Linked DNA regions of Homo sapiens: regions 2 and 3 are each linked to region 1. The links are contacts of gene promoters, found by promoter capture Hi-C in blood cells and fetal thymus (Javierre and others, 2016). All regions are on one chromosome and are shown on one strand. Each heading gives the region's core, a stretch centred on a gene start or on the middle of the fragment in contact. The rest is flanking DNA. Distances are from core to core; before and after follow the strand shown.

Region 1 (3,859 bases), core at 416-2,915:
TTTTTAGAGTGGTGTTCACTCTTCCGGTTTTCTCTTTAAAACGAGATTTAGTTGACCTATTTTCATGTGTTTTTAGGGCACCCAGACACTCTATACAAACAATATTTGCTAATCATAAAACAGCAAAGCCAAAATCACAAATCCTGTTATCTGTGTGGGACATTTTCTCCACGTGTCCTTACGTGCCATGTCTTTGAAAAGTCTAAATATAGATTCACTGACTAAAATGTCCTAAGTCTTCCAAATTCTATAATTATATACTGGATTGAATGCCAATATTATACGTTCACATCCCATTTGAAAAGTACACACACGAGGTGGGGGGGATGTGCCCACTACCTGAAATGCCAATCATACAAAGAACAAAGCGTACCCTATCATCTTTGGGCTTTCTTCTCTCCTCAGTTCTACACTGTTTCGATATTACAAAAATATTAAACAAAATGTTCAAAACTTGAGAAATAAGTGCTCACTAAAATGGCACTTAGAGAAAATAAATTAAAACATATACCAATATGATTAACGAGAAAAGATTCTAGTTGCCAGGATGTGTGTGTAAACTTACAGTCCTGTAGGTTTTACCTGTGGAGAGGACGGTTCCGTCTCCACTCTTAAAACAATTTTACATTCTTTAGAAGCCTTAGCAAAATAAATAGCGACAACAATGGAAGACCCACACTCCTTCAGACGGGATGGAGGGTAGGAAGAGAACTCCCCACCCAACAATCAGAACAAAGCAACAGCCTCAGCTTTTAAGATGCAGAGGGTTTGGAGGCTCAAGGGATATTCTGAGATCTCTTAATTGTTCCGATGCTTCAACAGCCGTCAAAAACAACTAAGAATATGCAGCGCTGGGCTTCACTAGGACAAGGTGCAGGGATTGCTCTCTTCGTTTTAGGCAAGACCGAGACACTGAGCAGGAGAAAAAAAAGGAGGAAGAGCGAGAGAAGAGAAAGCAGCAGCCAGAGACACTCCGGGAAAAGGCAAAAATGCAGACTGTACGCCCTGGCTTCGATCTGACCCAAGGCCCAAACTGTCTGACCCCACACGGGAAAACATGGAGCAGGCTACCGCCGAAAAACCATCGCCGCCCCTACACCTCGAGGCCAGAAGGTCCCCGGGTAAAGGCCTAAAACCACGGCCCAGAGGGGAGGAGAGGGACCCGCCTGCCACCCGAGGCAGCGAAGCGGGCTCAGGCGGAAGAGGCTGCGCAGTAATGGCCGCTGCTCCGCCCCTCGCACCCGGACCGAGACCAGCTCCGGCCGTCACCCAGGGCAGGGGCTGCGGCGCCCTCGGGCAGCGCAGGGGCTGTCACGGTCGTCTTGCCTGCCCCAGCAGCCAAGGCGGGGGTGGCGGAAAGGGCTGAACTGTCCCATCCCGCCTCTGCGCGGACAGCCGGGGCCGCGCCAGCCCAAGGGCGTCCATCTACGTACCGGCCCCTGACCCCGCCGCCGCCCCTCTCAGGCCCCGAGCGCAAGGCCGACCCGGAGTACGTTGCGGCTGGAGGTGACACCGCGAGCTATGCCTCCTCTCCCCGAGTGAGGATCCTAGAGTGGCCGGCGTTCACCCTGCTCCCCCGAGAGGGCCTCGCTCCGACTCCCACCTCTCCGGCCACAGCTGCGGCCACCTCGCAGTCTTTTCTCTCTGGCCTCGGAGCCCGCAGCTGCCGGGAACGCGCGCGGCCGTCACGTGACCACCCGGCGCGTCGCGGAGGAGGGGCCGCGACGCGCCGCGCACCCGCACCCGCACCGGCGAGCTAACTCCGGCGCCTCATCGTTCTGCCCCTGTCTCGCGCCGCTGTCTGCCGGTACTCTCTTGCCTGTGGGGAGCGGCGACTTCGCTGCTTGCATTCTTCTGGCTTCTTTAGAGTGTGCTTGCTTTGTATTAGGGCCCAGAGGCTCTGAAAGAGTGCAGTTCCAACAGAAAGAGATTTGGGGTGGAGGAAGTAAAACGTGTGTAGGACCAGCAGGTGGTGCTGCTCAAAAATCCAGCTTTGCTATCCTGAGGAAGCTCTGGGGCGCCTAGCTGAGTTTCGGCTTAAAGATCCCTTAGCAAAAGTACTGCTTGTTCCCTTTCAAGAAAAAAAATGGGGAGGGGGGGGACGGAGGGGAGAGAGTACTGTAGGACTTTCCAATTTGTTCTCCTTTTTAATGGTTGAGCAATTTAATCGGGGAAAAAATGAGTATTAGTTTTCTTTTGAAACCCCACCCTTTTTTTAAAAAAAACAGAATAGTGCCTGAGAAACTGAAGAAATTAATCTGCATGATAATCTAAAATTAAAGAGGTTATTTTGATCGCAAGCCTGTGGTTTTAAACATCAGAACTCTAGCAGTAATTCACCATTTTAGCATGTACATTTCCTTTTTCAGAACTGATTAAATTTTCCTAATTTGTAGGAAAATGAAGAGGGTGGAAGAGCAGACCTTTTATCTTTAGAAGAGTATGTATTTCAACATTCTATGACAGCGTCTTCTCATTTGCATTAGTGTTGCATTTTGGGATTTCATTAACTGTTTGATTCAGGATTGGAAGTTTTCAGTGTCCTTATAGGTATAGAAATGTATATGTTTTCTGTTATTCCTCTGAAATCAGTTTATTTCAGGGTTCTCATTCATATATATCAATATGTAACCCAATCTCTTGAAGGGTGCATCTAGTTCAGTGATGCTTGCGCGTGTATGCAATACTGTTCCATACATGTAGAAATATTGAAGTGTATATCCTTTAACTTTAAGCTTAGTTTTCTATCTTTATCTTCTTATTAGCCACTCAGTTTTGTCCCTCTATCCTACACAGCCCATGAACAGAGAATAGCTAAAATTTGATATGTACTCGAAGATTCCAGCTTGAAGAGGTAATGCTAATATTAACTAACAATGTGCCAGGTGTTGCTCTAAGTGCTTTATTCATATATACCCACTTAATTCTCATAATAAACTATGAGGTAGGCACTATTATTATTCCCATTTTACAGAGAGAGAGACACACACAGCTGAGATTTGAATCCAGGCACAGACTGTAAGATGTCAGCTAGTTCAACCCCTTCTCACTCATACCCAAGGTCTTTGTATTTCAGTAAATGGTTGCATCTTTCCTTGTTCAAACCCACCTTTAACTCCTCTCTTTTATGTCTTATATGCATTTGGCATATAACCTGTTGGCTCTTCCTTCAAAGTATATCCAACTACTTACCACCTCCGCTACAATCTGCATCATCTCTTGTTTGGATTATAGTGTTACGGTAGACCAGGAACTAGTCTTTTGACTCTATCCTTAATACAGAATCCTAAATAAATCTACTTAAAAAGAAGTGAGATCGTACCACTCCTTTGCTCAAAGTCTCCTGTGGCTTCCCAACACAAGTAAAAACCAAAGTCCTAACGATGGCTTTAAAATCCTCCCCTCATTACCTCTTTGACCCCACAGACTGTTTACCCAGCTTTGTATTCCCAGAAAGCTCTCCACAAGCTGCCAACCTCATAGTCTTTGCAGTTGTGGTTTCCTCTGCTTAGAACACTCTTCCCCATCATGCTCCCTCCATATGTGCTCAGATGTCCAACTCTTCAGTCAGTCCCTCTACTTGTCAGCATATTTTAAGTCATGATGTTTCCATTCCCAATATTTCATATTTCCTCCTTTACTTTTTAATACTTATCACAGTGTAATGGATAATTTATTTTACTTACTAATCTTCATCATATTTCTCATCACATTAGGACGCAAGACACAGGAGGCCAGGAATGTGTGTTCTGTTTTGTATCTCAACTGCCAGGAATAGTGCCTGACACACTTAAAGAGGTTCTCTGTAAATATGTGTTACATGAATGAGTAAATGAATGAATGAATGAATGAATACACA
Region 2 (3,790 bases), core at 588-3,087, 2.2 Mb before region 1:
CTTACCTTTGCTAAGCAAAGATCTAACCTGTGGCTGAATTATGAAAGAGCTGAGGAAACATTCTGAAATCCATGTGGCAGATCTCAGGAATGCTTTAGGATGAAATCAACTCCTGGAACTAACCCCCCATGACTGACAGCTTTCCACTTGCTAGCTGTGTGATCTTAGGTATTTTCCTTTGTGAAATATAATACTTCTGGCAATATAAATAAATGTAAATAAAACAATAGGGTGGGAATAAAATGAAATAACAGATATGAAATGCCTGGCAGAGTACTGGACACATAGTAGTTATTCACTAAATGCAGGGATTCCTCAGAGTGTCTATGTGGGTATGCTTTTTCCAGTTTTCAGATAACTTCCGCATACATTATCCCATTTGATTTTTCATAACTCTATGTTGTAGGCAAGATAGATGAAATATCTCTATTTTACAAAGGATGAAAGGATGCTTGGAGTAAATAACCAGTTTTCTTGAATGATGGTTATCTGGCCTCTCATTGAATAACTATTTCTAGTGCAAGGAGCACATTGCTCAACCAATTCCATCGTGGACACTAAGGAAGAGAATGAGATATTCAAGAGTTTTCAAGATCTGCACTCAAGACAACATTGCCCACCCATTACTGGTATGGAATATAACCACAACACATGAGCTGTAAAGAGTGTAGTGACTGTGACCATCTTTGTTGTATTGGTGATAAGAATGTAAATTGGCATAGCCTGTGGAAGAAACAATTCAGGTATGTGTATTGAAAACCTTAGACATATTCATCTTTTGGCCTTATAATTTCCTAACTACTTATCTATTTTAAGAATAACTGGAAATAATGAAAAAGCTTGATGCATAGAGGAGCTCATCAGAGTATAGTTTCTAATAGTGAAAAACTGGAAACACTCTCAATAGCCTACCATGGTCTATTAAAAGTAGAATAAATTGGAAAGGCAGAGTGTTCCAGAGATAAGGAGTCAGACTTTGGAGTCTGACTCGCTAGAATAAAATTCTTACTCTGCCTTTTACTAGTGGTGTGAGTGGGTTGGTTGCTTAAGATAGCTAATTCTTATTAACTCGACTAAAAGTAGAAAGACTATATTTTACAGAGCCGTTATGAGAATTACATATAATATTGAATGAAAATTGTTTAGCCCTGGGCTGGTGAAAGTACTCATTATTATCATTACTACATAGTACTTATGCCATTTATTAAACGTTCAGTATATGTGAGTCATTGAACAAACATTATCTTTTAAAACTCTGATACAAAGTCTTTGATGTCTGTGCTGTTAATATCCTCATTTGACAGATGAGGAAACAGAAATAGTCTATGGCCAAATCACCCTGAAAGCATCCGATCTTTTCTGATCTCAAAAGCTAAGCAGGGTTGGGCCCGGTTAGTACTTGGATGGGAAACTGAGAAATAGATTGGACAGGTAGCTTTCCCAAATTCACACAGATGGTCGGTTACAGTGCTGGGATTTGAATACCAGCAGTCTGACTTGAGCCCATGCTCTAATCAAGGCTATATGACCTCCAATACTATAAAATAGTTGTGTGTCTCTGTGTGTATATATACTTAACATAAAATCATATTAGACATACACATTTATATGATGTTTAGATACAGTTTTTATTTATTTATTTATTTTTATTTTTTGGAGATGGAGTCTCGCTCTGTTGCCCAGGCTGGAGTACAGTGGCGTGATCTCGGCTCACTGCAACCTCCGCCTCCTGGGTTCAAGCGATTCTCCTGCCTCAGCCTACTGAGTAGCTGGGACTACAGGTGCACACCGCCATGCCAGGCTATTTTTTTGTATTTTAGAAGAGACGGGGTTTCACCGTGGTTGCCCAGGCTGGTCTCGAACTCCTGAGCTCAGGCAATCTGCCTGCCTTGGCCTCCCAAAGTGCTAGGATTACAGGCGTGAGCCACCGCGCCTGGCCTAGAAACAGTTTTAGTGGTGTATTACTAGTTTCTAAAAACAGGACACCAAATTGTATACAAGGTAGGACATCTACTATGCAGATAAAAGGGCCTGGAAACCAACATGGTTGCCTCTGTCATGGTATTATAAGTGTCTTTTATTCATGATTCTGGATATTTCTGTGTTTTCCAACATTTCAACTGAAAATGTACTGTTTTGTAAACAAAATTGAAGATGGAAATATAGGTAAGTCATTCAATGAAGATGTAAGAATAGGTTTAGATAGGTTATATTTCTTTCAATTCTAATATCAGAGTGTACTAGATATCCTGAATAATCTTCCTTCTGAAATGACTCAGAATACTGGGTAAAAATTAGAAAGCAATGGGGATAATATAAACACTTACATGTGTCAGAACTGGGGTGGGCGTAGGAAAGGCTGGGGTGGGAACTGGCTCAGGCTGGATAACTATTTCAGCTGGAGCTGCTCCATCTTCATCTTCACGGAGTTTCTGATGGGCACAGCGACCAATGTCAGCATTTTTGAAGGACACAGGCCTTGCAAAGTCCATGGGGCTAATAGAATGTAATAAATAAGATTTTTTTATTTTCGTTTTTTTGCTTCCTTACAATTAAGCCCAATCCCCGCATGCCTTTTTAAGTCCATTAGTGTGCTTTTCTCAGTCTAAGTTGAAGATCCTCATTGTTTCCCTCCTCCCCTGCATAGCTGTAGACAATGTAGATGCATTGGGACCCCTAATAGCAAGAAATAAAAATAAAAAATTAGTAGTAGTAATGAGGAGATCCACTTACACAGAGTTAATAACAAGATTCCATATGCAGCCTTCAAAAGGAGGAATATTTCTGAGTGGGGAAGGTTGAAATTCAGGTGGAGCACCCCCAACGAAAAGCTTTTTAACTTCGATAGGCTGTTCAACTGTCAGGTTTTGCATGTATCTTCTGTTTTCATCCACTTGAACTGTAAAGATGCTGATAAAATATTAAAAATAAACAAGTATAAGTCACATCTGATTCAATACAGTTGGAAATCAAATTCTTTCCTGCCACCCTTCACCCCTCTCAACCATAGCTTTTAAGGGAGCCAAAATTGGATGCTTAGGAATTCTACACTAAGCAAACGCTGTTCTCAGGATCTCGTTCCATGACTCCCTCGTTCACTCTTCCTGAAAGTTTACTGAAACCAGGTCATGGCGCACTGCAACATTAGCCTCTTGTAGAGCTGACAACAGCGCTGTGCAGCCCAACACATGAGCCTGTGAGAACTGAGGCTTCTGCAGTGTGCAGTAATGTCTAACCGTATAAGGGTTGGCAGGTTTAGCAAAGCATGGGGTCTTCCTTGGGTTGTGCTGGCTATTATCTTCTTGCTAGGGAACAAACCATGCTCCTGAGAGCTTAGATTGCAGGAATCAACAGCAAACACTTAAAGCACCTTTTATAAAGAATGTAGCTGATGGCTTTTGAATAGAAGAGGCAGGCAAGGACACCCTGCTAATTGTTCCTTGCAATGATTTTCCTTAGTGGCTGTTTCATTAATTTTCCTAATTTGCTTATGAGAGAGAACTCACACACTGCTAATTGAGAACCTCATGCTACTTATTTACAACAATCCTTGGATCCCTGGGCCAAGAATCAGAAGGAGACAAAGAGTTCTGATGAAAATGACCAAAGGCATTTTCTCTTTTGTTCCGGAAGCAAGTTTTGAGTTTCGGTCTTAACAGTCATCATGGTGCTATTAGTCATAAGCATTAGTCACTAGCCTGGGGATCATGAATGGATTACTGAAAACTTACTTCATATCTGGAGAGAAAACCGGAGTACTTGGATGGAAACCTCAGTCCTAAAGTACCCT
Region 3 (3,815 bases), core at 564-3,063, 2.8 Mb before region 1:
GTCAACTTTAATTTCCCTCACTGCTTTTATCTTTAAAATTAAAGATATTTTACAGAAAACACACTGGAAAAAGAATAGATATTACATAAAATTTTTGCCCATGTATTTAAGGACTTTAAATCACAAATTATACAAGTATTCAGAAATAATTTCGTACTCAGTGAAACAAAATTACAGTCTTAGAACCAAAAGGGACTACTTACTCGGACTATACATAACTATACAGCTAAGAAACTATATAAAATTGCCTTACACTTATCAGACAGTAAAATGAACAGCTCATATAAAAGACAAATCTCAACTAAAGGTCTTTTCCATTTCTTCAAAGTTTTAAACACATTTCAACTTAGCAGTTTTCTTAACATTCAAAATAAAGTCATCAGCTGAGACTCGTTAATTAAAAATTGATCAGAGGTACAGACACCGATAAATGCAAAAGCAAACAATTGTTTCCAATTCAGGGAGCGATCAATCTCAAATCTCTGAATAAAAGCAAAGTGTCTTTCCCATATAACTCATGTCGGATGGAAGTTACAGGGTCTGAGTCCTCAGAATTCATTGCTTCGATTTACTAAACTTTCAATTTCTGATCAGCATCCTTTCACACAACATCTGGCTGCTCGCTCAGGTCCTCTAATTACTTCCACGTCTGAACGGACTACGTAGCTACGAGTAAAGGCCAAACTTTGCTCTCGGCCTTCCGAACTTAAAAGACGCGTTCAACCACTAGAGGTCTCCCCTTGGCCAGTTTTGCACGTTCGCTATTTTGCTGCACTTGAAACTTTCCGGAGAAATGCTCTCTACTCGAGTCAGTGTTTTTCTAAAAACTTGCGCAAAAATCCACGCGACCGAGATAGCCAGCATAGAGCCTCTCGGACTCCCTAAACCAATAAAGACATCACAAACAACGCTCTAGGAAAACCAAAAGGAGAACTGGACGCACTCGCCCCGGCCGCGCCCCCCCACCCCAAATTCTTATTTCTCATCTCAGTTTCCCCTAACCTAACAATTAAAAATCTATTTTTGTTTCTGTGCACTCTGAATGATCTCGAATGCATTTTTCTGGCGGTGGCCCCGAGGTGGAGAAGCGGGCCAAGGGATGCGAGGCGTTGGGGGTGGGGGCGGTGAGGGGGAGGGCCGTGCTCACAGCGCCCGAGGAAGTTGCCTAAGGAAAGGGACTCCGTTTTTCGGGTCCCCTCAAAAAATCGGCGGGGAGGGGGAGGAAAAGGAAGCGGGGTGGTGGCAGCAGGGGGACTCAGAAGGGAAACCGAAGCAACGTTTACCTCCGTCTCCCGTGGAAGGGTGGGGTAGAGCCGCGGTCCCCGCGCCCTGGAAAGCGGCTAGTTACCCCCACCTCCCTCTGAGCGCGACGGACAGACCGACGCCCCCAGCCCTCCGCGGGGACCCGGGAGGAACACGCCCGCTTTTAAACTTTCTCTCACGGTCGCGCTGCGGGCTGTGCTTTGACCGGGACTGGGGGAGGGGGGAATCGCAGGGCCTTTTTTTCTTTAAAGGTAATTAAAGTTTTACCACCAGTCCAAAAGTTGCGCCCTCCCCCCGCCCGTGCCACCGTGCCCTCCTCCCCTTCCAGGGCTCTCAAGTTTTTCTCCCCGCCCGGCGGCCCCCACACTCCACCAGCTCGCGGGGCGCGCGGCGGATGCCTCGGCTCCTGCGCTTCCCGATCCCCACCCCCGCCGGCCTCTACTTCCCCCCGCCCCGCCGCCGCGGCGCGAGGACGGCCCGCGGGGCCCAGGACGCGAGTGTGCAAAGCCCATTATTCCGGAACCGCACACACACGCGGCGCGAGGCGGGCGGTGGCCCCGGCGCCGGCCCCGGCCCCGACCCCTCTTTTCCTCCCCAGAATAAGGCAGGCGTAAACAAGTTGCAGGAAAAGCAGCCCCGCGCCGCCCCCACCCTCCCCCCACAAGCCCGCCGCCCCGGCGCGGCCGCCGCCGCCGCGACCGCCGCCGCCGCCTCCCGACACACGCCCGCGCCCGCGCCCGCACCCGGGCCGGCGCGGCGCGGCACGGCGCGGGGCGAACGCCGCGACGGCGCGGGCTCCCGGCCCGGCCCGCGGCCCGCGCCCTCTCCCGCGCGGACGGCCGCCGCGGGCCCGCGCCGCCTCGCTTCCCAAAGCACTTTCCTGCCTCGGGCAGAAATAAACCGGAGGGTTTATTTTTGTGCAACTTTCCCAAAATGGCGGAAATTGGAGCTGATCTATATGAAATTCTCACACACTCGGTTGGGAAGAGGGAGGCGGCGAGGAAGCCACGCAAACTCTCGGCCGCCGAGCCCCGCCGCGGGTCCGTGTGTGTGCGTGCGTGTGAGTGTGCGTGTGCGCGGTGGGAGTCGGGCAGGCCTTTCCGCCGCGCACACACACAGCACACGCCGGGGAGACGCGCCTGCACATTCAACCAGTCCATTCTCCGCAGCCCGAAAGGGGAGAAAGTGGCCCGGCCTCTTTTCCCACTGCCTCGGTCTCCCGTACTTGTACTTCTCGCGCTCGCCCGCCCGCTCGCTCGCTCTCCGGTGCGCGCCCGGCACAAAGGCCACACGGGCGGAGGGGGCCGCAGGGGCGGCGCGCGGGGCTCGCGCCTCCCGCCGCACCGATCCGCGGCCCCGGCCGCCCCCGCGCCCCCCGCCGGCGCCCCCCGCCTCGGCGGCCGCGCTCGCCGCCTGGGCTGCGGCTCCGCGGCGCCCACCCGGACACGCACCCCGGTGGAGCCCGGCGCCGCCGCGCTCCCCCACCCCGCGCCCGGTGTCACGAAAGCGACCAAAGTGACAAGCTCGGGGGGCGCGGGGGAGGGGGCCACACGCATCCCGCCGCCTGCGCGCCAGCCTGAGCCCAACGCGGCCGCCTCGCCCCGGCTCCCTTCCGCACGGCCCCCCACACCCTTCCCCGTGTGCGCGCAAAGAAAAAAATACAAGTCTCTCCTCCCCCCATTTTTTCCTTTCTCTTTTCTCTCTCTTTTGTTCCTCTTTCACACTCGCACTCACTACTTCAGAGTGAGATGCCCAGAGACTCCCCCTCCAGCCGTTTCCGAGTCACTTGCCCACTTTTTTCCCCGGGATTAAGTTTTCTCCTCTTTCCCAGAGGCGCAGAGAAGTGGGGGAGAAACCCCTTCTGTCCCTCCCCTCCCCTGATCTGTTTCACAAGACGAGGGTGCGCTTCCTTCCCTCTATAGGGCTCTTAACTTTCATCCTCACCCAGAAAAATAAATGAATGGCTTTTGCACGGACAAATCTTCAGATTAATTAGAGATTAGATCCGATCAACCGCTTCTTACCCCCAAATTTTCTCTTTTTTTTTTCTCCGTCTCACGAGTAGTCCTGACAAATGGTCCAGGGCTGCGGGCGCAATGCGCATGTGCGCGTAGAGTCAGGGCTGGGGAGAGGGGAAACTGCGCTGGTGCCGGTGCCGCCGCCGCCGCCGCCGCTGCCGGGGAGGCTCGCTCTGGCTTCCCTGTTACTGCTGCTGCGCCTTCGCCGCTGGAAAGCAGCAATAAAGCCGGGTGGCAAATGCAGCTGCCCGCAGATCCTGTTTCAGGTGCATCTTTTCAATAGCCCGGTCACCGCCTCAGAGCTGGTTCAAGAACAGTCCAAACAAATAGGAAACACTGCTAAGGTTCCAGATTTCTTTGTCTATTTTTCACTTTACTTTTTTTAAAGGCAATTCTCAGAGCAGCGAATCCACCATGTGCTGTGAAATGTATGCATTCAGCCATTAAAGAGTGGGCCTTAGTCTTGCACAAACACTGCCCAAAGGCTAAATACATGCTACAGGTCATGAAAAGTAACAAAGTTGTAAGCTTTGG

What was found. Contacts are between HindIII fragments. The CHiCAGO score rates a contact against its expected background, and 5 or more counts as called.
Region 2: a contact is called between a fragment that was not itself captured here and the fragment with the promoter of RNF146 in region 1, in 1 of 17 cell types (total CD8 T cells). The highest score is 5.7, in total CD8 T cells.
Region 3: a contact is called between a fragment that was not itself captured here and the fragment with the promoter of RNF146 in region 1, in 1 of 17 cell types (fetal thymus). The highest score is 7.5, in fetal thymus.

What each region holds. Positions count from the first base shown.
Region 1 is chr6:127,264,670-127,268,528 of GRCh38, reverse strand. It overlaps RNF146 (ring finger protein 146), which reads right to left and starts at 1,665. Exons shown (of 3, transcript NM_001242850.2): 1 at 1,604-1,665. RefSeq lists an enhancer at 977-1,036 and silencers at 1,237-1,506, 1,607-1,706. The HindIII fragment of the contact is 5,432 bases long and covers 1-2,737 here.
Region 2 is chr6:129,491,021-129,494,810 of GRCh38, reverse strand. LAMA2 (laminin subunit alpha 2) reads right to left here. Exons shown (of 65, transcript NM_000426.4): 57 at 2,734-2,910; 58 at 2,328-2,496. LOC102723409 (a long non-coding RNA gene) reads left to right here. Exons shown (of 8, transcript XR_001743860.2): 8 at 519-2,329. Among named protein-coding and RNA genes, the nearest start is that of ARHGAP18, 220 kb to the left of the region's middle. RefSeq lists an enhancer at 3,040-3,790. The HindIII fragment of the contact is 1,992 bases long and covers 842-2,833 here.
Region 3 is chr6:130,018,137-130,021,951 of GRCh38, reverse strand. L3MBTL3 (L3MBTL histone methyl-lysine binding protein 3) reads right to left here and starts at 3,371. Exons shown (of 23, transcript NM_032438.4): 1 at 3,288-3,371. RefSeq lists an enhancer at 1,032-1,091 and silencers at 1,452-1,521, 1,572-1,811, 2,762-2,891. The HindIII fragment of the contact is 3,997 bases long and covers 1-3,811 here.